Linked DNA regions of Homo sapiens: all the other regions are linked to region 3. The links are contacts of gene promoters, found by promoter capture Hi-C in blood cells and fetal thymus (Javierre and others, 2016). All regions are on one chromosome and are shown on one strand. Each heading gives the region's core, a stretch centred on a gene start or on the middle of the fragment in contact. The rest is flanking DNA. Distances are from core to core; before and after follow the strand shown.

Evidence for each region. The method cuts DNA at HindIII sites, captures the fragments that hold promoters and counts their contacts. A CHiCAGO score of 5 or more calls a contact.
Region 1: a contact is called between a fragment that was not itself captured here and the fragment with the promoter of MIR302CHG in region 3, in 2 of 17 cell types (neutrophils and fetal thymus). The highest score is 7.6, in neutrophils.
Region 2: a contact is called between a fragment that was not itself captured here and the fragment with the promoter of MIR302CHG in region 3, in 1 of 17 cell types (neutrophils). The highest score is 7.6, in neutrophils.
Region 4: a fragment that was not itself captured here is called in contact with the fragment with the promoter of MIR302CHG in region 3 in 3 of 17 cell types (neutrophils, monocytes and total CD8 T cells); the score reaches 9.7 in neutrophils.
Region 5: a contact is called between a fragment that was not itself captured here and the fragment with the promoter of MIR302CHG in region 3, in 6 of 17 cell types (neutrophils, naive B cells, naive CD4 T cells and 3 more). The highest score is 7.9, in neutrophils.
Region 6: a contact is called between a fragment that was not itself captured here and the fragment with the promoter of MIR302CHG in region 3, in 7 of 17 cell types (neutrophils, total CD8 T cells, total CD4 T cells and 4 more). The highest score is 10.7, in neutrophils.

Annotation. Positions count from the first base shown.
Region 1 is chr4:112,313,366-112,317,963 of GRCh38, forward strand. It overlaps ALPK1 (alpha kinase 1), which reads left to right. Exons shown (of 16, transcript NM_025144.4): 2 at 2,436-2,487. Among named protein-coding and RNA genes, the nearest start is that of ALPK1, 18 kb to the left of the region's middle. The HindIII fragment of the contact is 2,794 bases long and covers 653-3,446 here.
Region 2 is chr4:112,199,906-112,204,502 of GRCh38, forward strand. No RefSeq gene overlaps it. Among named protein-coding and RNA genes, the nearest start is that of AP1AR, 30 kb to the right of the region's middle. The HindIII fragment of the contact is 9,259 bases long and covers 1-4,597 here.
Region 3 is chr4:112,648,572-112,652,849 of GRCh38, forward strand. MIR302CHG (miR-302/367 cluster host gene) reads right to left here and starts at 1,480. Exons shown (of 3, transcript NR_146092.1): 1 at 1,421-1,480; 2 at 1-28. LARP7 (La ribonucleoprotein 7, transcriptional regulator) reads left to right here. Exons shown (of 13, transcript NM_016648.4): 9 at 964-1,115; 10 at 1,890-2,011. RefSeq lists an enhancer at 300-1,022. The HindIII fragment of the contact is 6,288 bases long and covers 1-4,278 here.
Region 4 is chr4:112,329,741-112,334,034 of GRCh38, forward strand. The region is part of intron 2 of ALPK1 (alpha kinase 1); the gene reads left to right. Among named protein-coding and RNA genes, the nearest start is that of ALPK1, 35 kb to the left of the region's middle. The HindIII fragment of the contact is 1,897 bases long and covers 1,131-3,027 here.
Region 5 is chr4:112,251,248-112,255,817 of GRCh38, forward strand. AP1AR (adaptor related protein complex 1 associated regulatory protein) reads left to right here. Exons shown (of 10, transcript NM_018569.6): 2 at 1,961-2,009; 3 at 3,500-3,526. Among named protein-coding and RNA genes, the nearest start is that of AP1AR-DT, 21 kb to the left of the region's middle. The HindIII fragment of the contact is 6,257 bases long and covers 1-4,570 here.
Region 6 is chr4:112,182,972-112,187,455 of GRCh38, forward strand. It overlaps FAM241A (family with sequence similarity 241 member A), which reads left to right. Exons shown (of 2, transcript NM_152400.3): 2 at 3,722-4,484. The coding sequence ends at 3,967. Among named protein-coding and RNA genes, the nearest start is that of FAM241A, 40 kb to the left of the region's middle. The HindIII fragment of the contact is 1,032 bases long and covers 881-1,912 here.

The DNA of each region.
Region 1 (4,598 bases), core at 800-3,299, 330 kb before region 3:
AGCAGAGGAGGGAGGCTTTATGTCACATGTTTTTGGCACATCAACTAAGATAAGGAGTAAGAATTGACTGCTGGAGGCCGGGCATGGTGGCTCACGCCTGTAATCCCAACAGTTTGGGAGGCCGGGGCAGGTGAATCACTTGAGGTCAGGAGTTCGAGACCAGACTGCCCAACATGGTGAAAACCCATCTCTACTAAAAATACAAAAATTAGTCGGATATGGTGGCAAATGCCTGTAATCCCAGCTACTTGGGAGGCTGAGGCACAAGAATCGCTTGAACATGGGAGTTGGAGGTTGCAGTGAGTCAAGATTGCCTCATTGCACTCCAGCCTGGGTGACAGAGGGAGACTCCCATCTCAAAAAAAGTAATAATAAGAAGAATTGACGGCTGGATTTAGCAACATGGAGTTGATCAGTGACTTTGACAAAATTTGTTTCAGTGGCATAATGGGACAAAAGTCTAATTAGAATGCGTTTAAAAGAGAATGGGAAGAGAGAGGTTGGAAGCTCAAGTAGAGACAATTCTTTCAGGGAATTTTGCTAAAAAAGACAATAACTACTGATGAAAGTGAGATGAAGAGATTTTTCTTCTAAGATGAAAGAAATAATGGCATATTTGTAAACAGATAGGAATGAGCCAAAGGAGAGCAAAAGCTTGACGATGTAAAAGATTGAGAGAGGAAGAGGAGAGAAATACTGCTGCCCTTGAATAGAAACACAGTTGGACTTAGTGCCCAAATGGAGTGCTTGGTTTTAGATAAGAGCATGGGTGGTCCCTCTCTGATAGCAGAAGGGAAGACAGAGTATGGGATGCAGCTGCTGTTAGATTCGTAGAAGGGAGTGGGAGCCTGTGGAAGTCCTCGTCTGATGAGGATGAGGATGGAGGAAGAAGAGACAGCGTGAAATAGTCACCTAAGTGAGCAGAAGGTAAACGGATCATAAAAGTACAGTAAGGGTTCAGGAGTAGGATCCATAGAGGTCCCAGTGGGATTTTAGGATTGTTGGATTTTGGAGACTAAAAGGGGACAAGATGGGTAGTAGTGAATAGCGAGAGAGATTCGTGAATTTGAAAATCTGGAAGGGTTGCTGTGATTGATGATAACAAAATTTAGGCTGTATGACCATGGAAGTGAATGACTGAGGTTGTGTCAAGGACAACATCTTTGGAAGAAAGGATTTCAAGGAATGGAGAGTCCTGGATCATCACATGATTATTGAAATATCGAAGAATAAGAGTGATTTGGAGAGACCAAGTGATCCAGGAGCCAAAATGCCCTGAGAACTGGCAGCTGATAGCAACAATGAAGGGCAGTGGGATAATAGAATCTGGTGACATGAATTCCAAAGGTGGGGATAGGAGTGTGTGAAAGCAAGGTTCATAAGTGGCAGTTAAGAACAGGAGACCTCGACCTAGGATGGTGGTTTAGGGGCTGTAGGAGAATAAGCTGGCCTTTGAGAGGGTTATAGGAGAGTTGAAAAATGTAAATTACTGGGAAGAGTAATCCATTGCCTTTTTTTTTTTTTTTTTTTTTTTTGAGACAGTCTCACTCTGTTGCCCAGGCTGGAGTGCAGTGGCCTGATCTCGGCTCACTGCAACTTCCACTTCCTGGATTCAAATGATTCTCCTGCCTCAGCCTCCTGAGTAGCTGGGATTACAGGCACGCGCCACCACACCTGGCTAATTTTGTATTTTTAGTAGAGACAGGGTTTCACCATGTTTTGTCCAGACTGGTCTTGAACTCTTGACCTCACATGATCCACCTGCCTCAGCCTCCCAAAGTGCTGGGATTACAGGTGCAAGACACTGTGCCCGGCCACATTGTCATTTTAATATACAATAAAGTAGTAATTATTATTGCAAACTTCTTTAGCAACATTTTTGTATAAATAACTGGGGGATTCCCATTTTTCTGGCAGGCCCCAAAAGTAGTAAATAGACTTTTTTAAAGTCAGTGGATGAAAGTTGCAGAACTCCAGGAGATAAGATGTCAACCCCAGAGGTTTTTCAACAAAGTCCTTTTATTTCATGCATAATAAAATTATCAGATATGACCACCACTGATAGTTTCATACTCTGATGTTGAGTTTTCTCTCCTTTATGGTTGAAGTTTAAGGAGAAATTTGAAGCCCTTTCCCCTATTTAAGGGAGGGAGGAAACCAAAAGAGGTTTGTCCCCAGTCAAGCACTCTGGACAGGATCTGGTCTCCCTTGATGTAACATTCCTCTTCCTTTTATATCTAAAGTGATGAACAGTGATGATACAATTGTAACTTCTCTGCACTCATTTGCAACTCAGGAACTTGATCTTCCTGTTCCCTTATCCGCTGTTTCGAATAGCAAGCATGCAACAATGCTTGTGACATAATGCAAGAAATAGAGATTATTCCATCTTCTTATAACAAAGTCCTCTGTTTTTATGTCTTTTTCTTAACTAGGAAGTTCTTCTAAATCAGGAATGGATTGAAATCTAATGAACCGAAACTTTGGGTAAGTTTTCATATGAAACTTTTGAGTTAAGTTATTTTTTCCTAACTACATAGCAATACGTAGTCATTGTAGAAAATAGGAAGAGGAAAACAATAGAAAAGTACCACTTTAGAGGCAAACATTCCACATTTTATTGTATTTCCTTCTGATTATTCTTCAATAATTTTTAAAAATTGTGGTAAAATACACATAATATAAAATGTACCATCTGAACGATTTTAAGTGCACATTTCAATGGTATTAAGTACACTCACATTGTTGCACTGCAATAACTACCATCCATCCACAGAACTCTTTTTTATCTCACAAATTTGAAACTCTGCATCCAGTAAAGAATAACTCCCATTTCTCTCTTCCCCAGCCCCTGGCAAACACCATTCTCCTCTCTGTGTCTATCAGTGTGACTACTCTAGGTACTTCATATAAGTGATATCATGCTGTATTTGTCCTTTTGTGACTGGCTTCTGTCCTCAAGGTTCATCCATATGTCAGAATTGCCTTCCTTTTTAAGGTGGAATAATATTTTATTGCATGTACATACCAATTTTGTTTCTCCATTCATCCGTTCAGTGGACTGCTTCCATATTTTGGCTATTACTAATCATGTAATGGACATGGGTATATAAATATCTCCTTGAGTTCCTGCTTTCAATTCTTTTGGGTGTATGTAGAAGTAGAATTGCTAGATCATATGGTAATTCTATTTTTATCTTTCTGAGGAACTGCCGTACAGTGACAATACTGCATAAGATTTCTGATTTCTCCACATCCTTTCCAACATGTTATTTTCTGATTTTTTCATGGCAGCCATCTTAATGGGTGTGAGGTAGTGTCTCATTGTGCTTTTGATCTGCATTTCTGTAATGATTAGTGATATTGGGGACTTTTTCTGTACTTATTGGCCATTTGTATATCTTCTTTGGAGAAATGTCTATTCAAACTTTGCCCATTTTTTTTCAAGCTTTGTCTGCTTTATTCCACTACATTAAGTAAGGCAAAACAGTAACCTGTCATTCATAAAGATCAAGGAATGACTCGCATTCCCAAAAGGAACCAAAAAGGATGTTTCTTCACAAATGTGCATGACATTTATCATTATGCTGATAAGCACTTTAAACAACAACAAAAAAACTTTAGTGGATGAATCAAATAACAGATCCAAATTAACTTAGCTTTAAGTTTCCAAAATTGTAGTTTCAAATGCTAATGCTTTGCCCATTTTTTAATTGGGTTGTTTGATTTTTTTGTTGTTGAGTTACAGTTGTTCTTTATATACTCTGGATATTAACTCATTGTCAGATCCATGATTTGCAAATATTTTTTCTCATTTCATAGGTTTCCTTTTCACTCTGCTGATTGTGCCCTTTGATGCCCAGAGTTTTCAATTTTGATGTAGTCTAATTTATCTATTATTTATTTTGTTGCCTGTGCTTTCCATTTCATATACAAAAAATCACCAAACCCTACTTCATGAAGCCTTCCTCCTATGTGTTCTTCTAAGAGTTTTCTAGTTTTAACTCTTACATTTGTGTCTTTGGTCCATTATGAGTTAATTTTTGTATGTGGTGTTGTAAAGTAAGGGTCTCACTTCATTCTTCTGTATGTGGATATACAGTTTTCCCAATACCGTTTGTTGGAAAAAACTATTCTTTCCTCATTGGATGGTCTTGGCACTCTTGTTGGAAGTCATGTGACCCTATATATGATGGTTTATTTCTGGGCTTCTTATACATCGATGGTCTATACTACTGTTTGGATTACTATGGCTTCATTGTAAGTTTTGAAATCAGGAAGTGTGAGTCCTCCAATTTTCCTTTTTTTCAAAATTTTTTTAGCTATTCCAAGTCCCTTGAGATTCTATATAAATTTTAGGATGGATTTTTCTACTTTTGGAAGAAAATGTCAGTGGTTTTCGATGATTTTTTGCAGAGTTGCTATTACACTGTATGAACAATTTTATATTTTGCTTTGTCTTACTTAAAATTATTACATATATATACCATTACAAAATAAATGTTACTTATTATCCAAGCACTTCACAAACATACTTTACAGTGACTACATAAAGGAAATGTACAAATGGAAGTATAATTGAAAGGTCTGAAAATATG
Region 2 (4,597 bases), core at 1,641-4,140, 450 kb before region 3:
TCTTTCCAAATTGACATGGTCTAGAAACACCACCACCCCCACTAGCATATCAGCACCCATCTCTTTGTTTCTAATACCATTCTGTAATAAGGGTAATCAAGGTTCCCTGGAGAAATGGCTGATTCTAGGGCTAGACAGGGAAAGTGAAAGATGAGCCTGGAAAGTAAAGAAAGCTAAAACATTCTCTCTCTTTCTCTCTGTCTCTCTCTCTCTCTCATACACACACACACACACACACACACACACACACACACACACAAGAGAGAGAGAGAGAGAGCACAACAATTGAAAGAGTTTCCAAAAAACCAAAGCTGGAACAATTTAAGCAACAAAATATATAAAGTAGTATTGAATTGTAACCCAAAGTATAAATATTCACAAGTTTATCCTGATAGAAATAGATGATTACATAAACAAATTAATAAAGGAGAATAGACAAATATCTTACACAGAATTTCCAAAGAATTTATATAGATACTGCCCTTTCAGGTAGGTGGAGCACAACTCCCTAATCCATGAGAATTACTTTCCAAAGAATACAGAATTGAAGGCAGTAGGGAGAGTAGCTTGATAGGGGAGAAGCCTGACAAATATTACTTCAGCCAGGTCATCAAACTTGGTATCATCAGTGATAAGTCATGTTGATAGCATATACCTTTGATAGGTTGTTATGGAAATGCCACTTTATATCTGTGGTCTTCCACTCCAGAAACCATAACCCCAGGCTAATCATGAGGAAAACATCTGACAAACCCAAATTGAGGATCATTTTATGAAATATCTGAGCAGTACTCCTCAAAACCTTCAAGGTCATCAAAAACAAGTCTGAAAAACTGTCACAAACCAGCGAAGACTAAGGAAACATTATGATTAAATGTAATGTGGTATCCTAGATAGGATCCTGAAACAGAAAAAGAACATTAGGAAAAGGTAACGCATTCTAAAAGAAATATGGACTTCGATTAATAATAATGTATCAATACTGGTTTAGTTGTAGCAAATGTACTGTAAGTATGAACGTAGACATAAGATATTAACAACAGGAAAAACTGTATGCTGGATAGACAGGAACCCTCTCTATAATCTTTGCAACTTTTCTGTTGCAAAAATTTAATTATCTGCATTACTAAATACTTTTTTTAAAAATAATTTTAGGCCGGGCGCAGTGGCTCACGCATGTAATCCCAGCACTTTGGGAGGCCGAGGTAGGTGGATCACTTGAGGTAGGGGGTTCGAGACCAGCTTGGCCAACATGGTGAAAACCCATATCTACTAAAAAAAAAATACAAAAATTATCTGGGCGTGGCAGCGCACGCCTGTAATATCAGCTACTCAGGAGGCTGAGGCAGGAAAATTGCTCGAACCCGGGAAGCAGAGGTTGCAGTGAGCTGGGATCGCGCCACGGCACTCCAGCCTGGGTGACAGAGCAAGACTCCGCCTCAAAAAAAATAATAATAATTTTAACAAATTCCACTTTAACCGTTAGTCATGTCAGTAACCACATATTATCTCCTTTTCTATATAAATATTCCTTTGCGCTATGAGACAACATAAGTTTCTAATGACTTTTTCACCCTCTTCTTTTTATACATTTCAAAGCAGCAGTATAAAATTCACATTAATACTCCTTTGAAAAATTATCGCTCTATGACATATCAAACATATTAAAATAAATATCTACAAGTTTATAGTGATATAAATAAATTATTGCATGAGAAATTAACAAGGGAGAATTTCATGTGAGCATTTTATTTATGTTTAATAATTTCTTAGGTGAGGGAGAAAGGATAGGAATCTAAATGTCCTAATACAAACCAATTAGCTCACACCCAAAAGAGTCTTTGAGTTTGACATATACTCCTAGAAGTTCCTCCTGGGTGTGGGGTCCTTGGTCCATCTGTGAATCCCAGGAAGACTCCCAGGATATTTCCAAAATACCCTAGAAGTTGACAAGCTGTTGTTGTGCCTGAACCCCTGTGGATGCCACTGGGAATGGCACCAGGCTCAAGAAGCTGAAGAAGAGAACCAGAGCCAGCAAACGAGACATACATTTTATTGGGGGCTTACATACAGGGGAAGGAATCTAGTAGCAGCAGGCTAGGCAGGAGAACTGCAACTGCTTACAAAAGGCAGGTGGTTTAGCATTTTCACTTAGCATTCTTTTCCTAACGACCTCCAGCTGGCAACCTTCATTCAGCTCAAAACTTGGGACCTGGACCTCCGTATGGCCTGTGTTCCACAAGATGGGCTGGGAGCTCAGATGTTCCTCACAGAAAAGGAACAAATCTTCACTTTGGCCACACCCAGATTCCCCAGCTCAGAACATGCATTCAGGTGCATCTGCCATACACGGTCATTCTCAGGGTATGCTTCAGTTATTACTATCACATGTGTTCACCATACAGTTGTGACTGCAATAGAGTCCTCTGGCTCTGAAGAGCCTTACCACCAGTGAGTCTTCTGATCTGCTCAGGACAGACCAGCCTGGAACAGTGCTTCATTTTCCCACCAACCCCAAAACATGCTTGGTCCCAGAGCCAGTCAATCCATAAGAGAGTTCTTAGGCTGGAAACATCTTAGAAAGTCTTTCCAGAAAGACATCTCAGGTTGATATTAATACGGCTCTGTGGCCTTTAGAGGACCCTGGAAAGGAAGCATGTAGAGATGAGTCCTGCAGCCTGGCAACCTCCATTTGCATTCATGCCCAACCACAGAGCATCTTTAATATATCTGCATATCACCAGAGGTCCTCCTCAGGGGAAAATAACAGGTTCTGGGTATTCTCTGGAGTGTAAGGCTCTACAGGCTTGATAACTTCTTCTGACAGCAACGCCTGTTTGCCCTCTCACTAAGAGTTCTTCTGGCTTATGTGAATTTGAAAACATTTCTGCCTGAATATGTCCCATATATTCTCTATCATTTTTTGAAGGTCAGCAACTCTAGCCATCCAATAGTGATTATGCAGAAGATCTGTACATTGAACAGGTGACATAACCAAGAAAAAAATTGTGTCACTTGTAGTCTATACTTGACTCCTGTCCTCTAGAAATTGCATCGTGCCTTGATTTCTCTATTTGTAAATGTCAATTTAGTCTAACTCTCAAAGAGTTAAAACATTATTGGATAGGGTTAAAAAACATCTTGACTTTTGTTAAATATATATATTTATTTATATTTGTTATGCATTCTTATGTTTATATATTTTTAATGTTTACATATATTTTCTAGGAGACATAGTAAGGTGTTGACAGTGGTGATCTCTGATAGGCATATGTTTTCATTTCATCATTTTTGCTTAATTTATCTTCTAGAATGTAGTCCATGTACAAGGTAATAATGAAATATTATAGTTTTTGACCCATGCTATTTTATACATTCAGTGCATTAAATTTCTCTCCCTTTTACCTGTTCCCTTCCTAGCAGAAAAATGGTTTTTTAAAAGATAACTATTCAATGAAATATAAAAGAACTGCAAAAATACATACTAAGAATGTTAATAAACTAGGTTTCTAGTAATGAATAAAACGCTTCTTAAGGTTTTCCATGAAGTATTGGCCTTTGAGATGGAAATTTCCAAACTATTTTCATTTGCTACCATAAAAACTGCATGAGTGATCAGGCCTGATCACAGATGGGGAAATCCGGTGATGCCTGGATGATGGAAAAGGTAATAAGGCCCAGATATTGAGCTGTTTTCTTTAGACTGCACCTGGTTTATGGGGGCCTGAAGTACTCCAAATACTCTGTCATAATTTGTTGTTAGGAAAATGAGCTTAATGTCACGGAAAGGTCAGTCAAAGGTTGAAAACTATTTGAAATGAGAGCTTCTTATCACTACCTATTACTTTGAACCTAATTGTGTACTGTTATTTGTTCAACTGTTTGCATACCAAGGATTAGTTTAAAAGTTGAAATTTTGAAATATCTGGAAATAGTTTTCAGAGAGTTCCCTAGCCTGCCACTCTTTCACTACCCACATAACAGAAAGCTGGGTAGGAGAGGAGCAATTCCAAACCAAGGCCAAGACAAGTTCTTCTGAAGCCCTCTTGGGGCATCTGCTGGAGCAATACTGGTTTTTTGTTTGTTTGTTTTGTTTTTTTCCTTCAAGCTGGCAATAACGCCTATTTTAATCTAACCAACCAAATAAACAGCAGGGCCAAATGTCCCTTTTTTTTTTTTTTTTTTTTTTGAGACGGAGTCTCGCTCTGTTACCCAGGCTGGAGTGCAGTGGCGCGAATTGGACTCACTGCAAGTTCCGCCTCCCGGGTTCACGCCATTCTCCTGCCTCAGCCTCCCGAGTAGCTGGGACTGCAGATGACCGCCACCAGGCCCGGCTAATTTTTTGTATTTGTAGTACAGACGGGGTTTCACCGTGCTAGCCAGGATGGTCTCGATCTCCTGACCTCGTGATCCACCCGCTTCAGCCTCCCAAAGTGCTGGGATTACAGGCCTGAGCCACTGCGCCCGGCCAAATGTCCCATTTCTTAAATCTTAATTCTTCCCCCTGTGATAATCCAAAGTGCCTTGCAGTCCTGCTCAACTGGGCTTTGCCACATTCTGGACAGCCTGAGAATTGGATATAGTAGCTGAAACTAAA
Region 3 (4,278 bases), core at 230-2,729:
ACTTCTTTGGACTTCAGAGTATTTAGAGCTGAGGAGAAAGAAAACAAAATGGCATAACTTTAGAAGAAAAAAATTTTTTTACCTTCCTGAACTAGTTCCCAAAGATTCGTGTTCTCCTCCAGAAGGGTAAAAGGCAGGGACTTCAGCCACTTCTATTTATACTATTCTTAACTCTTGAATTCCTTTTGCCTTTTTATCTCAGAGAATCATTACAAGGGCCTTTTGTTATTTTAATGTATCAGCTCTCAGGGAATGTATGATCCTGGGTGGGTCTGGATCCTTTTTTTTTTTTTTGAAGTATACAGATGTCAATGTTAACAGCTAAAACCATTACCACAAGATATCTTCCTCTTAAAAAAAAAAAAGAAAAAGAAAAAGAAAATCTCCTATCTGCTTGTTTGATGGCATAGATTAGGGTAACAATGAGTGCTCCCACTGAGCCGAGAAAGGCATTGTGTTTCTATCTGGAGGAACTCTGTTTGAAGAAGCATCTACATGTTAAATGTATGTAAATAAATAGATTGCTTCCACGGGGTGTTTTGTTCTACTTAGAAATTCTTTTTGATTCAAGTAAATACTAAGGAATGTTATCTCTCAAATTGGAAGCAGTTTAACAAATCTTTAATCTCGCCCTTTTCCCACAGAGATGACTGATTTAGTAAATGTTACTAGTTAAGGAATTAATGCTAAAATTTTACTTTTATAAATTAAAATACTTCAGACACTCAAAAATTTAATTGGCAATCTTAAAACATTTAATCTGAATATTGGGGGAAGAGGAACTCCCTTAGCTTATTTTGCTAAATGTCTTTAGAACCTAGGAAATATTTTGAATATGTGTTTAAAGAAACAGGAAAGTTGGTGGAGGAGTTGCTCCAAGTCATTGTGAATGTATATATTTAGATATTTCCCTATTTACTTTTTATATTTAGTCATCTGTTATCACCATTTCTTTCCTTGTAGGAGCGAATGGATGGATTTGAAAAAAGAGTATTTAGCGCTACAAAAAGCTAGCATGGCTTCTTTAAAAAAAACAATATCCCAAATAAAATCAGAGTCAGAAATGGAAACAGACAGTGGAGTACCTCAAAACACTGGAATGAAAAATGAAAAAAGTAAAGATCACTGATAGTTTTGACAACATTATAATGTACTTATATATGTAAATGCTATCTCTGAGTTGTTATAAGATAAATTTTAATTTTAAAAAACTTGATTATTCTATTTCATTATTAGAACAATTCTTGATTTGTTAAGTTATCCAGATGTGTTACTTACTCTTGATATAAGAATATTTAAAAGGCTCATTTAAAACAATTTTTTAAATAACCTGAGTTTTCTCTACAGTTTTCATCAAGCACATGAGTGCAGAGTTTGCAGACTGAGCAAGTTTGTAGGAATGAAGATTGTAGTTTCTCACCTGTTAATTTCATTCTGTAGTATGCACCACAAGCAGGAACAAGTTAAAGCAGAATTCCTATGAATTCAAAATTAGGATACATTTTAAATTCTCATTTCTTGTAAAAATAAATGTTCACGTTTGAATAATAATGTATTTAAAACACAGTATCCTTTAACTTTTTTTTAACTTTATTGAGTAAAAATTTACTGTTCCTTTGTTCAGGGAGAAGGGGCAAATTTAAAGGCTTTACGAATGCTCTTCTAGCAGTAACAATTTGCATGTAGAATAATAAAACTTTCTGAGTTTTATTCATGGTATTTTGAAATAAGCAGTATGACATATAACCTTTAATTGTTTACTTTAAAATTAAATACGTTTTAAATTATTTAAATCTGCCTCAGGAATTATTCTAAGGTAGTCCTCCTAAGTATTAAATTGTTGTTAAGTGTAAGAGATTTAGTCCTGGTCTTTTTCCTTTTCTAATCAGCAGCCAACAGGGAAGAGTGTCGCACCCAGGAGAAAGTTAATGCAACAGGACCACAGTTCGTGAGTGGAGTGATTGTGAAGATCATTAGCACAGAGCCTCTACCTGGCAGGAAACAAGTCCGGGTAATGATTTTGAGCCCCTAGGGTATTTGTTCCTTTCTTCTCTTATTATTTCCCTGTGTGAAAATGTTTTGAATATGGAAGATAAAACAAATCAAGTTAGAATTTGTTTCCCTATGGTAAACTACTGTACAGTTTTAATTCCATGGTAACTCTTAGGTTTAATTTTGAAGCAAAATCTAGAGGCTGAAATTCCTCACTAAATCTATATGTAAGCACAGTTTAAACATCCTTCTCTATAGGAAAATTGTAACTTTTGCTTATTTTTATTGGCACTGATTTTTTTTGTATTACCTATGTGCTGATTATCTTTAAAATTTTAATTATAGAAAAGTAAAATATTTTTGAAAACCTCTTAAAATTTTTCACGCATGTGCCAAAAAACCCATACTTCTATATAATTTACGCTACAAATTGCTGTACATACAGGTTTATAATTTTTTCGCTTTATACAGTCTATCTTCTGTAGCCTTTTATACCACATTGGTAGCAATACTTTCTATTAGGGAAATTATATACTTTTAGGTGAGAGTACCATATCTTATTTACCCTTACCCTGCCTGTCACCCATTTAAGTGAATCCTTTTCTTTTTAAAAAGTGTGAAATGCTCTGTAACATACCACATATTTTAAGTATTTTCTTATACTGACATTCATCATCACTTAGTATGTTGTTTTGGTTTTACGTAGACTCATCAGTCACAGGTTTTAACTTGAATACCATTGAGGTGGTGGTTTGTTTATCTGTAAGCCCTCCTTATCTGAAATACTGTCCTACAATCCTATAGCTGTCACTAAGAAACAAATTTTGATCCTCTTTGCAATGTTGGTGAAGGATTTGGCCAAATCCAAATTGCTATTACCAGCTTGCATTTCAGGAGACAGCTGAAAATTGAGGGATGTAAATACTGCTCTGATTAATCAGATTGCAAAACATTTAATACAAAAATTGCTCAGAGTTATTTCTAATCAACTCATTAAATAACTTCTGTTATTTAAAGGGTAACTTTATCAATTACAAATTCATCATTTATGATCATCAAAATCATAAAATCAATCCCTGCATTAATCCAGTTAGTAGTTACTTACATTTTGCTGAAACAAAAACTGAGCTGTGTTGGTTACAACTGTCTGTGACTTGCCCATGTGATTACCAGGCTAATTTGTCATTCTATGGGTTTTAAATTCTAAGGGTTTTAAATCAAGAGATTAGCCTGACATTATAATGGATATTTAGTATATATCTTTTGAGTTGTAGTAATTGAATATGCTCAAAAGTCAGTTATAAAACTCATTACTACTACTGAATGCATTCAAATTTCAACAATACTGAGTTTTTTACTTGCTTTATATCTAAATTTGGTACTAATTAACTAGGTAAAGAAGTGGGAAGGACTAGCAAGTGTAAGTCTCTGCAGTTTTTTTTTTTTTAATTTGGCAAACAGTTACTAAATGCCTGTTTTGTGATAGTTGCTGAGTGTTGGGATGAGTTAAGATCTAGTCCCTGGCTTCTAGAAACTCACAGATTTTATTATATATTTTTTATTATTAACTGATAAACTTTTCTTATTCTATGATGAAATAATACTTCCAGGTATTGCTCAGTTCTTTCCGTAATTCAAACATCTAAAAATTCAACATCTGAAAGTAATGTAAATTAGTTATGTCTGAAATTTTAGGTCAAAACGAAAGGGAGGCAAGATAAATAAGATTTCCCCCCCCCCCCCATTTAGCAATCTCCAGTTACTTCTTTAGCTTTATGAATGGAAGTTGATGAATTAGGAATTAGTGTAACATTCCTGCATAAATGCATTGTATACTCTGTAAAACCTGCTGTGAAAAAAAAAGTTGATTAAGAATGCAGGAATCTGGTTAATTTGCCCTCACAGCAGGCAGTGTAGGTAAAACTTTTCCTTGCTGGGTGACCACAACTTGTTTAGAAGAGGTTACTTAGGTATTTTTTTCAGAAAGTAAGAGCTCTTGAACAATGTGGAAATCTAGTATTTTAGGTTTGGTTAAACTGTTTTTCATGAGTTGTTATTAAAAGTGGAATGATTTGTACACATATTTTAAAGTCATAGTGATTTTCTACAGGTGAGTAAAAACAAACCTCCCTTAATCCTTTTTTTTTTTTTTAATTTTATTCCTTATACTACTCCCAGATGTGAACGCTTCCTGATTTGGGGGTTGGGGGACACTATTTCTGCTTTCTGCTCTATAAATCTGTTGTCCTTATAGAATATTCCCATTCTAGTGCAGATTTTAAGGAT
Region 4 (4,294 bases), core at 829-3,328, 320 kb before region 3:
CACTGCTCATGAGGTTGACAATGGGCCATCTGACGTGAAATCACAGCAATGGTCAAGGACATGAAGACACACACAAGGGTGGGAGGGGTATAGGCCTGTCATGTCTGTACATGGTAAGTACTCAATAAATACTGGTCGAATGAACAGGCTACTGTGTGACAGAGTTGCTAAGGGGAAGCCACAAACTACTTCACTAAAGGCGCAGTTTATTTACTTACTTACGTATTTACTTAAGTACATATGAAAAGGAATTGAAGTGACATGCACTACTAAAATGTACCAAAATCCAATGTAAGCAAAAGTTAAATTGAAAAACGCTGATTAGAAACCATTTAGAATAAATGAAGAGAGCAGCTTGGGTCCTGGAAACCTGTGTTGAATGAATCATAAAGTAGAGCTTACAGAAAGTTCTGAGCTTCCAGACAACCAAGTCAAAAGAGGAACAAGCTGGATTTGTACATCTTTCATTAGTTAGTAAAGGGGTGTGTATAAGTTCCTCTGTAAATGCAGACTTATTTTTGGAACTTAATTCCAAGAAGAATTTATTGCATGGACACTTAAATAAGAGAAAGGAGACATTTGGCAACAGTTTTATAAAAGTACCTACATGTCATTTACAGCCTAAGCTATAAAGGTAATCACCACCAGTGTAGCCTGTATAAATTAATACACAACAGGGAGAGGGGAAAAAGGAAATGGGTTAAGGTATGAACATATGCACTACCACCCAAAGAGGGAAATATGAATATTGGCTACGGTCCTTGTTTTCGCAACTGGTTAAAAGGCTAGAGTTATAATCTACTAAATCTAGTACTCCCAGTGATGTGAGAGGTTCCACTCCTGCTTCTTCCCTTTGATTCCTGGACCCATGTGGCCTGTCCTTGGGTGAAACAAGACCATATATTGGTTGTTGATTCAGAGCATATACTATTTTCTCTATACCAGTACCCATGCCTTATGTCTTCCAGCCGGCTCTAAAACAGAATGTGTAATAGATTATTGCTTTGCTCTGTTAAGGCCAGCTGCTCCAGGGTTATGGTATGACCGATCGATGAATCCTGTGGGAAATGCCCTGCCCTATAGCATCCTTGGCCAGAGGCAGTGTTGTATGGACTAATGTGGGTGAATTAAGCTTTCAGTAAGTCCACAGACGGTATTGCTAAGAGAAGCATAGCAAGGGAGCCAAACCTACATCCAGAACACATGTCCATTCCAGGGAGAAAAACTGCTACAACTCCATGATGAAAGAGGTTCACTATGATCAGCCAACAGGAGGTTAGCTGTTCCCTCCTCATCCCTCAGGTTTAGAGCTAAATGGAGGGCTCACTATGCTGGCGTTTCAAGCATTCAATAGTGGTGTGGTAGCCAGATTTGCTGTGGTAAGGGGAACTTCATGTGGTTGAGTCCATGCATAACCTTCATCTTTGTCACCATGGCCACTTTGTTCTTGAACTCATCGAGGAACAATAGTGAGAGTAGGGAGACAGGAAAACGGACATGTGCAGTACTGGTCTTTTGCCCGCTGATTATTGAGAGGGTGTCTTCTGCAGTGGGAGACCTTTGGTGGACATTTACATGGGGCACAAGTATTCTGATATCATAAACCCATTCTGAGAGGTCCATCCATATCCATACGTGTATCTCTACCCTAAACCTCCTTGTCATCATCCTTCAATCTTCTTCCTTTCAATTTTCTCATCATCTAACCCAACCTTTCAGCTCTGTCTTTGAATTGCACTGTGATTATCTTTCCTTGCAGGCAAAGTATACAATTTGAGGTACCACTCAAAGTCTGTTTATTGGGAGGATTTATCTTCTCACTTGTTTCTCATGGCTGACAGTGAGGAGAGCTCCAATGCTGTATCAGTTTACATATGACAGTGTATTATGCATAAACATCAGTAAATCAGCCTTGGACATTTTCTATCCTGTCCATAGAGAAATTCCCATTACACTGTATATGTGGGTCTAAGGAGATGTGGCATCACAGCAAGACTAGAAGGAGAGTTTGAGCCACTTGCTCATGAAACTTTCTTATGCCTTTAGCAGTTGTGAAGTCTGATCTTGTATATATCTCTTCAACTTGATTATGGAGAGCTGCTGTGCACATCCACATTTTCAAATAGGTCAATCAAGTCGCATCTGATTCAGGTGGGCAGCTTGGGTCTCATACATAATCAGTTGATTTCCTATGTCTAGACACTCAGTCTCTACCAGTACCAAATAACAACCACTAAGTGAGGTTTCTCAAGGAAAATAGCTATTTGCCAAAGAGGTATGACTTTACGCTCAAGTCTGGGATCTGTACTATTATTATCTTATTCAGGAGTTCCATAGGATCAATATGGTATCCTGATTTGCCACAGTCACTCACTCTACGGTCCCAAGGGCTAAGTGGCAAGAGAGGTTTATTCTTTAAACTGAACTGGCAAAAGAATATTATTTTGTTTGGGACCTTCCTTAAATATAAAGCCTATGGTTTATCAATAAGGAGGAAGGAAGAATACCAGTTAATTTGCCTGTATAATACTGAAAGTCCACCAAGTATTTGTGCCTCTTTCTTCCTAGAACTGGACGCAAGAAGGTACAGCAAATTGACTTTCACAATTTGAAGGGGATATCTCAATATACTCCAGATCTCTAGACCCCCAGAAACATCAATGAGTTAGTAGATCTCTGAACTTTTATGGAATTTTTCTCTTATCCTTAGTCACATATATGTCTTGCCAAGGCATTTTGTGTATTTGCTAATTTATGCTCAGCAGATTCATTGACTGGTTGCCATCAATTACATGGCCATGGTCTATGTCCTGTGAAATGGTGAAATGATCAAGGTCCCTGAATACTAGGTTATGACACAGTACAGTCAGGGAGCCAATGTAGGAATTCTGCCACTTGCTGAGTAAGGTCTTCTCTAATTCTAAATACAGGAACTTGGAAAATAAATACAGGATGAATGCTTGGACCCAGAATGAACACACTGAGATAGATTTTGTCAAATATTCCATTTATCACCCAACCCTCTTAAGCTTTTCTTCTGATTGTTGGACTGTAGTGGTGTTATATGTCCCTGGAGTTAACTGTAGCTCAGAGACAATTCCAATAATCCCTAAAACTTCTAACTATTTTAGTTTCTTCATTGTACATTTACCCTCGTGAATTACTGCAGATCACTTTGGGGAATGCTAAAAGGAAGCCTTTTGATGCACTTTCAAAGAACTTGGCTTCAAGGGTCCCCAGTCTCCATTTCATGGAAGGGGCTTTTGGTCTATGAACCAACTCAGTTCTGGGAAGTAAGAGACTATGAGACTGTGGTCCCTCAAGCCACACTTCTATTTGCTAGGGTTAGGATTTTCAATTATAATACATAGATGAAGTAAAACCTTAGTGTACTGCCCATGTATTAAAGCTGAAGCTAAAGGTCCTTGCAGGTCAAACCATTCTGATTACTGATCTGGCCCTGCATAATTATGCCCACCTTGCCTCTTGGTTTATGCCTCTCCAATATCCTCTCAATTCTAAAGAGTATATCATGGAGTACATTTCTACTTTCATTCCCAGATTACAAAGTATAGTTGCCATCTTGCTTTTTAGTGATGTGTGCTTTCTCACTAATATGTTTTGTAATGCCTTGTTACTAGGACTATCCCTGGAACATAATTAGGAGTGATACGCTGCAGGGTTGAGTGAGCAGATCACCCTCACAGATCCATTCTAATATTTCTATCTCTAAGTATCTGTGTATCTTCATCCACATTATACTAATTTCTAACAGCTTGACTTCCTTTAGTGTAGGCCACCACTGAGTCCAGGTACCAGCCAACCAACTGAACAAATGGTCATAACCAATCTCACCTACCAGAACTAGCGCATTTACCAGAGTCTCTGGTAGATGAACCCACATTAATGTTTGACCCAAAGGAGCTATATTCCTTTCTTCTTCCTTCATTTAGCACTTAAGAATCCATTTTCACACATATTCCACTAGTTTCTGTTGACATAAATTAGAAAAAAAATTCTACAATTCTATTGGTGTGTAAGCCCATTCTCGTGTAGGTGTAACTTGGTTAGACTCTCCTTCTGATATTTAGACACTTCTGCCCCACAGCCTCTCTAAGAGAAGCACGAAGCTTCTTAATGCTTTTTCTTTTCCTTTTGCTTTTGTTTTTTGTTTGTTTGGTTTTGTTTTTTGTGTTTTTTTTTGGTAAACAGCATAAATAGGCTTTATTTTTATTTATTTTTTAACTTAACATAGAGCAACACTGATGTATTGTTTGTTCTTTATTTTATAATT
Region 5 (4,570 bases), core at 1,417-3,916, 400 kb before region 3:
TTCAGAGTCATGTGAGGACGTGAGTGTCCTCACTATAGCTGGCTGTGAATAGAGGGGACAGAAAAGGGAGATATTTACAACAGATAACACTTTTGCCTACTACTAAAGTTAGTTTGTATTATCTATGTATAATTAGACTAGAACATGGTGTTCTGCCATCTAATACAAATGTAGTGTAACAGTTACCTTGGTTTCGACAATGTTCTACTTAGCTTTGGGCTTTGCCACAGCAGTGAAGTCATACTGATGGCTCCTATTGATAGTATTACTGGGCTTTATTTCTAATTATTCAGCTGTACCACTCACTAACCTGGAGGAGGAAACAGATTAATCAGAGACAGATTCTCCATTCAGGGAAGATAGTGATGGTTGCAGGGAGAGAAGCATATAGCACTGTAAGCAGGAATCCTAATGCCAGAACCCAGTGCTACTACTGAAGGTTCAACTCATTTCTGTATTTGTTTGAGAAATAAAGGAGAGAGAAGAGTGGAGGCACTAGATAGAGGATTAAGGGTATTGCATTTATGTTGGATATAGTCCATGAAATCTGTGGAATTGTAATACCAAATTCTTTGCTTTTTACCAATGATCTTAGTGGACAATAACACAGATTTGCATCTATCAGCAGATAAAGATTATAGCAGGAAAAATAGTTCCCATAATTTCATTGCTATTTTTTTCCTTCAGTCATGATATGGCATTCTCTTTCACTAAACCTTCATCCACACACATACACATAATACAAAGAATTCTGCACTTTGGGAGTCCCAGAATTACTTGAGCCCAAGAATTTGCGACCAGGCTGGGTAACATTGAGACCTCGTCTCTACAAAAAAATAAGTGAAGCCAAGCATGGTGGTGCATGCCTGTATTACTAGCTACTGGGGAGGCTGAGGCAGGAGGATCACTTGAGCCAAGGAGTGCAAAGCTGCAATGAGTCAGGATTGCGCCACTGCACTCCAGCTTGGGTGACAGAGTAAGACCCTGTCTCCAAAAAAGAAAGAAAAGCAAAAGAATTCTGACCTGTCCTAACCCCAGGATTCTCCTTGTTTCTTAAAAGTGTGCTTTCTGTCCATGAATCCTGATGATTTAAGAACACTTAGTACAAATTTGGATCCCCATTGTATGGCAGTGGAGTTCTCCATCAGTTTTGGCAGCTGTAACAGGAGCCACATTATGACTGAAAGTCCCGTAATCTCCTGGCACTTCCAGTTACAAAGGACTGTGAGTGGCCCTCTCCTGGGATGCCAGCTTGGATGCTGTAGTACTTAGAATGTAGACATATCTTTGGAGGATATAATAAAGAAGATTCCTATTTGACTACATATAAGTTTAATAGGAGCAGGAAAGAATGATTAAAATAAAGTCAATATTTGGCCCTAGTTGGAAAAAATAATGTAATGGATTGTTTGATTGACATGTATATGCATTGTTTTTCTCTTTTATTTGTGAGGGCATGGGAAGATAACAAAAGTCTTGAATAAAGACACGTGATTCCACCACCAAAGATAACTACTCTTAGCATATTGACATATATACTTTTAGATACTTAATGTTCTGTGTATTTTTAACAAAATTGAGAACATATTCTTTTTATATATTATTTAACACATCAGTATTTTTTAACGAGGTACTTTTCTTGATGTAGTAAAAATAATGAGATACATTTTAAAATGTATTCTACTCAATGTAGTAAATATAGTAAATTAATTATTACAGATTTAGTAAGTGTTAGTGCCAATAGAAAGAAATATTGATTGACTAAACAAAGTCATAATGAAGTTTAAAAATCTGGACTTTTTATAGTCTTAGGTAAATTTTGTTGTTCTTTTTTTATAAATATAACTATATGTTAGAGATTTTAAAGTTGCTCTTGAGGAAATAAATGTTTTTATGCTATATATTAATTCAATCTTAGAGTTAATTGTGTTTTTTAAAGTTATTCTGTTTTCCTTCCCAGATCCAAGTATTTTAGAACATGCTCAAGAGGTGAGCACTTAACAATAGAGGTAAGTAGTCCTTAATTTGATTGAATTAAAAATGCCTTCAGAAAGGCGGAAGGGGCTTTTTGTTGTAAAGAGGGAAAGATCTGGACCCAAATTTAGAATGGACTGTTTATATTTCAATATTATTCATGTTAGTGAAGATTGAAAGAGTTGGAGCAGTGAGGGAAGGAATGAGTAGGAAGAAGTTTGCAGAGGATTATGGTTCTGTTTTTCTAATAGCTTTTTCCCCCACCCTATAAGTCAGGGAGAAGGTACTCTTCTGTCAGTAATAGTGGCTCACTAGGGTATAACGAGAGGTGGTTGGCCTGCCCCAGCAGGGGGGAGTCCAGAAACAAAGCAGGAAGTTGAGTTTAAGCAACTCCACAGCAGAATGACCGAGTCACTTTTTCTTTGAATGTAAAATATAATAATAGAAACTACCATTTATTCCTTACCTACTATAAACTAGCCACTCCACCATACAAATTAAGAATGTCATCACAACTCTCTTGTAAACAGGTGGTGGTCACCCTGTTTCATGGATGAAAAATCAGAGGCTTAGACAGGTGGAGAAATTGGGCTATATTACACAACCTATTAAGTGGCAAAACCTAAATTCTAGTCCAAACTGCCTGGCTTCAAAGCTGGAACACTGTACTTTATGGCCTTCTATATTAATAAGGAAATGTGTAAGGCAGGAATTAGATATTTAAAAATCACAAACTAATATAAAAAAAGATAAAGATAATAACTTTAACAGTTTTATTCTTTTTTCAGAGAGATTCCTTAATTTTCTAAACCTTTTGAATTCATTGTTTTCTCTCAATCTTTAAGCCAAACAGTATTAACAATAAAACACCTTTTATTTCAGGTGGTTACTTATCAAGTTATTTATATTTAAAATAAAAACACTTTAGTGATATAATAGTAATGACTTTTATTAGGTCACTGACATAATAGTGTTAAGCACATTATGATCAAACTGTTTACATTCCTATCTCTAGAAAGACATTGTATTTGGGGATAGTAACTACCACTTAGTAGATTTTCAGTAAATAACTATATGAATGAATAGACGGATAAATATAAACGTGGGGAAATTCTTATTTGGTATCTTTTAGTCCCCATTCCTTGAATAATTTTCCTTCTTACAACATTTGTTCTGTAGTCAAGTGAAGTGGAATATTCTGGTAGCATGGAATGAAATTACTTGTATGAAATATTCAATTCAGATGAAAGTTTTAGTTCTGATTTATGTAGAAAATTGCTATAATTCTCCTGTTTGATTTTCATTCATAGAAAGTCATAAATTAAAATAGTATATGCTTGTCTTGGCCATTTTGTAGGACTGTTAAATATATCAAATGAAATGATGTATTAAAGAGGCATTTGAATTAAATAGCTTACAAATATAAAGGTATATTATTTTTAAGTGAAAAAAGTAACATAATTTCTTGTGAGATGTATACCTAAGACAAATATTCCTCTTAACGCTTACTTTTTTGTCCTTTCAGTTTGAGAATCTAGTAGAAAGTGATGAAGTAAGTATTTCCATAATAGTACAAAACTTGTATTTGTTTTTCTCATTAATCGTCTCATTAGTTCTAACAATTACGTTTACAATTTTTATTATTTTTGTTTTAGAATTTTTATTTTCTGGTTTTTATTTTTACTTTTTAGTTCTTTATTATTTCCTTCTTTTACTAATTTATATTAGAAAATAATTCCGAATTTTTTTTTTTTCTTGAGACGGAGTCTCGCTCTGTCTCCCAGGCTGGAGTGCAGTGGCGGGATCTCGGCTCACTGCAAGCTCCGCCTCCCGGGTCACGCCATTCTCCTGCCTCAGCCTCCCAAGTAGCTGGGACTACAGGCGCCCGCCACTACGCCCGGCTAATTTTTTGTATTTTTAGTAGAGACGGGGTTTCACCATGTTAGCCAGGATGGTCTCGATCTCCTGACCTCGTGATCCGCCAGCCTCGGCCTCCCAAAGTGCTGGGATTTCAGGTGTGAGCCACCGCGCCCAGCCAATTCCGAATTTTTTTACTATCTAAGATACACTATATACACACACAGGATTTAAAGCGTTATACAGAAACCCAAGGAACTTCAGAAAGTTGTATTTCTAATATTTCTAACCTCTTGCCATTAAGTAGGTAAAATACCTAACAATCCAGAGTAGACCCATTGCTTTTTGTTGTTGTTGCCGTTGTTTTCTTTTTAAGAGACAAGATCTCGCTATGTTGCCCAGGCTGGACTTAAACTCCTCGGCTTGAGCAGTCCTCCTGCCTCAGCTGAGTAGCTGGGACCATCGGTGTGTACCACTTCACCCAGCTTTGGAGTAGGCCTATTCTTTATAGTTTTCATAGATTCTGATGTCAGATTTTCTACATGTTTATTCTACAGTTTCTGACTTTAGCCATCATCTCTTTTATCTTTTCTTTATGTTGATTTTCTACATTTCATCTCATACAACTCAGCAAGTTTTAAGATGCTTCTCAAATACAGAAGTGTTAAAAATGAGAAGGGAGTGCATTTTAGAATCAGCAAATTGTGTATATTTCAACATTTGATCTTAGTCAAAAGGC
Region 6 (4,484 bases), core at 147-2,646, 470 kb before region 3:
CTTTTGCCTGCCTGGAAACTGACACCCTTTCCACATTCTTAAATGTCTTCCTTTAGGGTTGTTTGAACCCCCTATCCAATTCATTGCTGGATATATTTGATGTTTCTACAGAACTTCATTTGTGAAGATATGTTACTTTTAGGCATTAGCCTAGTGATTTTTTTTTAAACTTTTTTCTTCTTCATCAGATTACCCAGATTAAGAAGTATTTCAGTAAGGTGGCAAAGTTTTAGAAATTACTGAATCTGGTTGATACGTATATAGGTTTATTATACTATTTTCTCTAGTTTTGTGTGTGCTTAAATTTTTTTATAATTAAAAAAAAAGAAGAAGAAGCAGGCTGCAACAGCCACAGCTTGCCCAGACCTGTCCTTACTGGGTCTTCAGCTTCCAGTCTCAATCCCACCAGCTGATCTCAAGATCTGAGATAATGTGAGCATTGCTGTCTCCTCGCCTGGCCTGATTTACTAACTCTCTGTTTTGATTTAAGTGTTGCAACACCTCCTTCTTCCCCTGAAAAACCCACAAGCATTTGTAGATTTAATTTATTTTACAAAGAATTTAAACCTTCAGACAGTACCTACCACATCCAGATTAGGGTACTTTCTTCGTACTAAAACCACAAAAATACTGAAAAAAAAAGTCTTAAAAAGCTTCAGTAACAACAAAAAAAACCCCAAAGTACAATGAGTGCATAGATTACAAGAAATTGGGAAGAGTAAAAAAAAAAATTTTTTTAAGAACTTTAATAAAAAATGAAGAAAAAAAGGCCAGAAACAGTATCAACATGCTGAACACTGGAGAAATAGAGAGGGATGAGGGATCAGCAGAATTACATACTAAATCGAGGACTCTTCAAGTTCTACCCTAAAGAAAAGAAAGCTTTAATATTAGGCAAGAATAAGGGTTTTTTTAAAATGTAGTATATTGTTATGGATCATATCAAAGTACAAGAAACATAAAATTGACCCAGTCATAATATATCAGTGAAGGAAAAAATAATTTAGAAATCAATTTTTTAAAAAAAGAAAAGATCCACAAATTATAACTTAAGAGAAAACTATCAGTATCAAAAAAGGATCACATAAATCATTTTATGGATTAGAAAACTGAAGTTCAGGAAAAGTGAAGTAATTTGGCTAAGGTCATGTCACTCAGTTAAAGTGTTGCAGCCTGGATGTGAACTCCCTAGATAACTCTACAACATTTTGTTCTTCTCACTCTTTTTCTGATAGAAGTGAAAATCCAAAAGTAATTTTAAAAATTATATAAAATAGGCCGGGCACAGTGGCTCACGCTGGTAATTCCAGCACTTTGGGAGGCCAAGGCAGGTGGATCACCTGAGGCCAGGAGTTCAAGACCAGTCTGACCAACATGGTGAAACCCTGTCTCTAGTAAATACAAAAGATTAGCCAGGCATGGTGGTGCATGCCTGTAGTCCCAGCTACTTGGGAGGCTAAGGCAGGAGAATTGCTTGAAGTGTGAGGTGGAGTTTGCAGTGAGCCGAGATTGTGCCATTGCACTCCAGCCTGGGCAACAAGAAAGAAACTGTCTCAAAAAAAAAAATTATATAAAAGTATAGCTCAAAAGTAAATCTGGCTTGAACACATGATGTAGACTCAACAAAGATGCCCCAGTGAGTCTCATTTTTCTACTACCTCATCAGTCCCCCTTGGTACTCATTACTGTACATAAATTACTAGTATATGGGAAAAGCCCATTTCTTAAAGTCATACTGAAAATCATTTTGTCTGATTTTCTATTTTAAACAAAAGTTAGATTTTTTTTCACTCTTCCCTTAAAGATTTATTTTAAACTCTATGTGTACAATAGAAAATAAGGCTTCATATAGCCATTTCTTTAATGAAAAAAATATTTTTAATTATTTACTGATCGATGACTGAAATGATCAAGCTTTGGTTTCTACTAAAAGAATGTAAGTTTGATTCAGATGTTTGAAGAATGTCTTAAAATTTCCTCAAATTCATTGGCTGTTTGTGGCAGATGATTTTGTGACACTCCCTTATAAGATAATTAATTTTGCTTTCCTTTGGCCTATACGGCATACTTAATGGTATTTAATACTTATTATGTGAAGCCCTATATCTAAAGGCTTTTTAAACGTATAATAAATTCTCCATCATGTACATACTATGAGCAAATAATTCAATAATTATTTGAATCATGCCTCCTAAATAAAATATATTTAAATAAATTATAATTATCTCACCTACATGACAGTTTTTCTTTTGTGATTCTACTAGGGTCTGGGGCGGTGGGGAGGGGGAGAGAAACTATACCAATTATTTTAACAAAGATAATTTAATATAAGTAATTGTTAACTGGGTATTGGAAAAGCATGGTCACCAGATCAGCATCATAAGCATCACCTAGAAACTTCCTAGAAATGCAAATTCTCAGACTCCAACTTCACCCCTGACTTACTGAATCAGAAACTCTAGTAGTAGGCCCAGCAAGCTGTGCTTTAACAAGCCCTCCAGCGGATTCTAACGCATGCTAAAGTTTAAAAACCACTGCACTAAAATATCACCAAGACAACCACTCATAGGACTGGGCAGAAAGAAAAAGAGATGGATGGACTTACTGAAACTGAGAAGCTTCAAAAAGGCCCCCATGGAACTGAAATTCAGACTTTTGAGAACAGGTCACTGCTTGCCTGGTACTGATTTCTCTGAGTTCAGAGGAGGGAGCCTATAGACCTGGGAACCAGGTATCTGAGGAAGAAGCACCCAGTAATTGGAGCTGGCATCTCAAGAAGGCACATTGAGATTGGTTCTACAAGTGTTGGAAAACCCCCAAATTGCAATCAGCTGCTACTACTAGCAGGCACTATTGCTGTCGGAGTGAAGAATTGTTGCTAGAGTGAGACTTAACAGGATTAAGAAACCCATCCGAAGGAAACAGCAAATTCCTTCTTCCTTCTCTACCTGTGAAGTGTCACGCTGGTCCCTCTATTGGCAGAGCCTAACAGGGAGACAGAAATGCTTGCAGAATTCCAAAGAGTGGGTTTGAAGCCAAGAGACAGTAGCTTACTGTCATGGCCTTAATTATAATACAAGTGGAAGATAATAGAAATAATACTTTAGGTATGTATAATTGGGTGCATGTAGACATTTTCTGGGATACTAACTACTGGGTAGACATTTGGCCTTATTGTAAAAAAAAAAAATTTGTATTAAAACTATTTGTTTCTCCTGATGAAATTAATAAGAGGCATTTAGGGCATCTATATAATGAACAGGAAACTATGCAAGGGCCTGCGCTGAAGTCTGCTTAGCTGAGCCTAAGACAAAGATCACAGCAGTAGTGGCTGAGGATTGCTCAATAATAACAGCAAACATGCTTTGGTCATCTGAGGCTCGGTTTCTTAACGTCTTAGTGTCAAAGGAACCGTCTAAAAAGAATCTTACCAGGACAGAGCAGTCAGGCCTTGCCTCATAAAACAGGAGGGTGGCAGAAAAGGGTGTTCTGAAATCATGGTCACTCACAAGAGAAATACAAACATGATTCTTCACTTAAGCAGTCATTTTTGTGCAATTCCAGGATCAAAAAGAACATTCCCATTGTGTTAACAGGTACTTGTAGAATAATTATCAGAAGTATGCCCAGCACTTTGGAAGATGAAGAACTAAGGTTCTTAAAGACGTTTACATATTTCTCATGTTATGTTCATGTTTTGTCTTTTTTTTTTTTTTTAAAGGATGTTGAAGACTCACAGAACCACACTGGTGAGCCGGTTGGAGATGACTACAAGAAAATGGGAACACTTTTTGGTGAACTGAACAAAAACCTTATCAACATGGGCTTCACAAGGATGTATTTTGGAGAACGAATAGTGGAACCAGTAATAGTCATTTTCTTTTGGGTTATGCTGTGGTTCCTTGGCCTGCAAGCCCTTGGACTAGTTGCTGTTCTTTGCCTTGTTATTATTTATGTGCAACAGTAAAACATGGCCGAATTGAATTGTTTGACATTTGGTAGCCATATATGTAATTGAAGAAGTTATATATTTCACTTTTTGACAACCGAAAAAGTTTGCCTTGTTTCAAATCATGTGCTGGCTGTTTTGTAAGTAAATTTATACATGGATGTCACTTAAAACTAAACTCTTGATCATAACAGGGTTGAATATATATTTTGAATATACATTAGCTTATTCAAAACTCTTGTTTCACTACTGTGATCTCTGTCTCCTTTATACACCTCTATCCCCATGCCAAATCTTAAGTAACACCACCAGAAAGTGAACAGGGAAAATAACAGGACATGGAATTCAAATCAAGCAATATAGTTCTTATAAAGAGTTCCAATAAAACATTTCAGAAGAAAAAGTATGAAACAAGCTAAAAGTAAGTTTCACTTAGAAAACTTCTCCCCACTCACACTCCCCACCAAATAATCTCATATTATTTGGGAAATATTTGGATTTCAATTGTCCCTACCCAGCCTAAACTAAGGTAAAT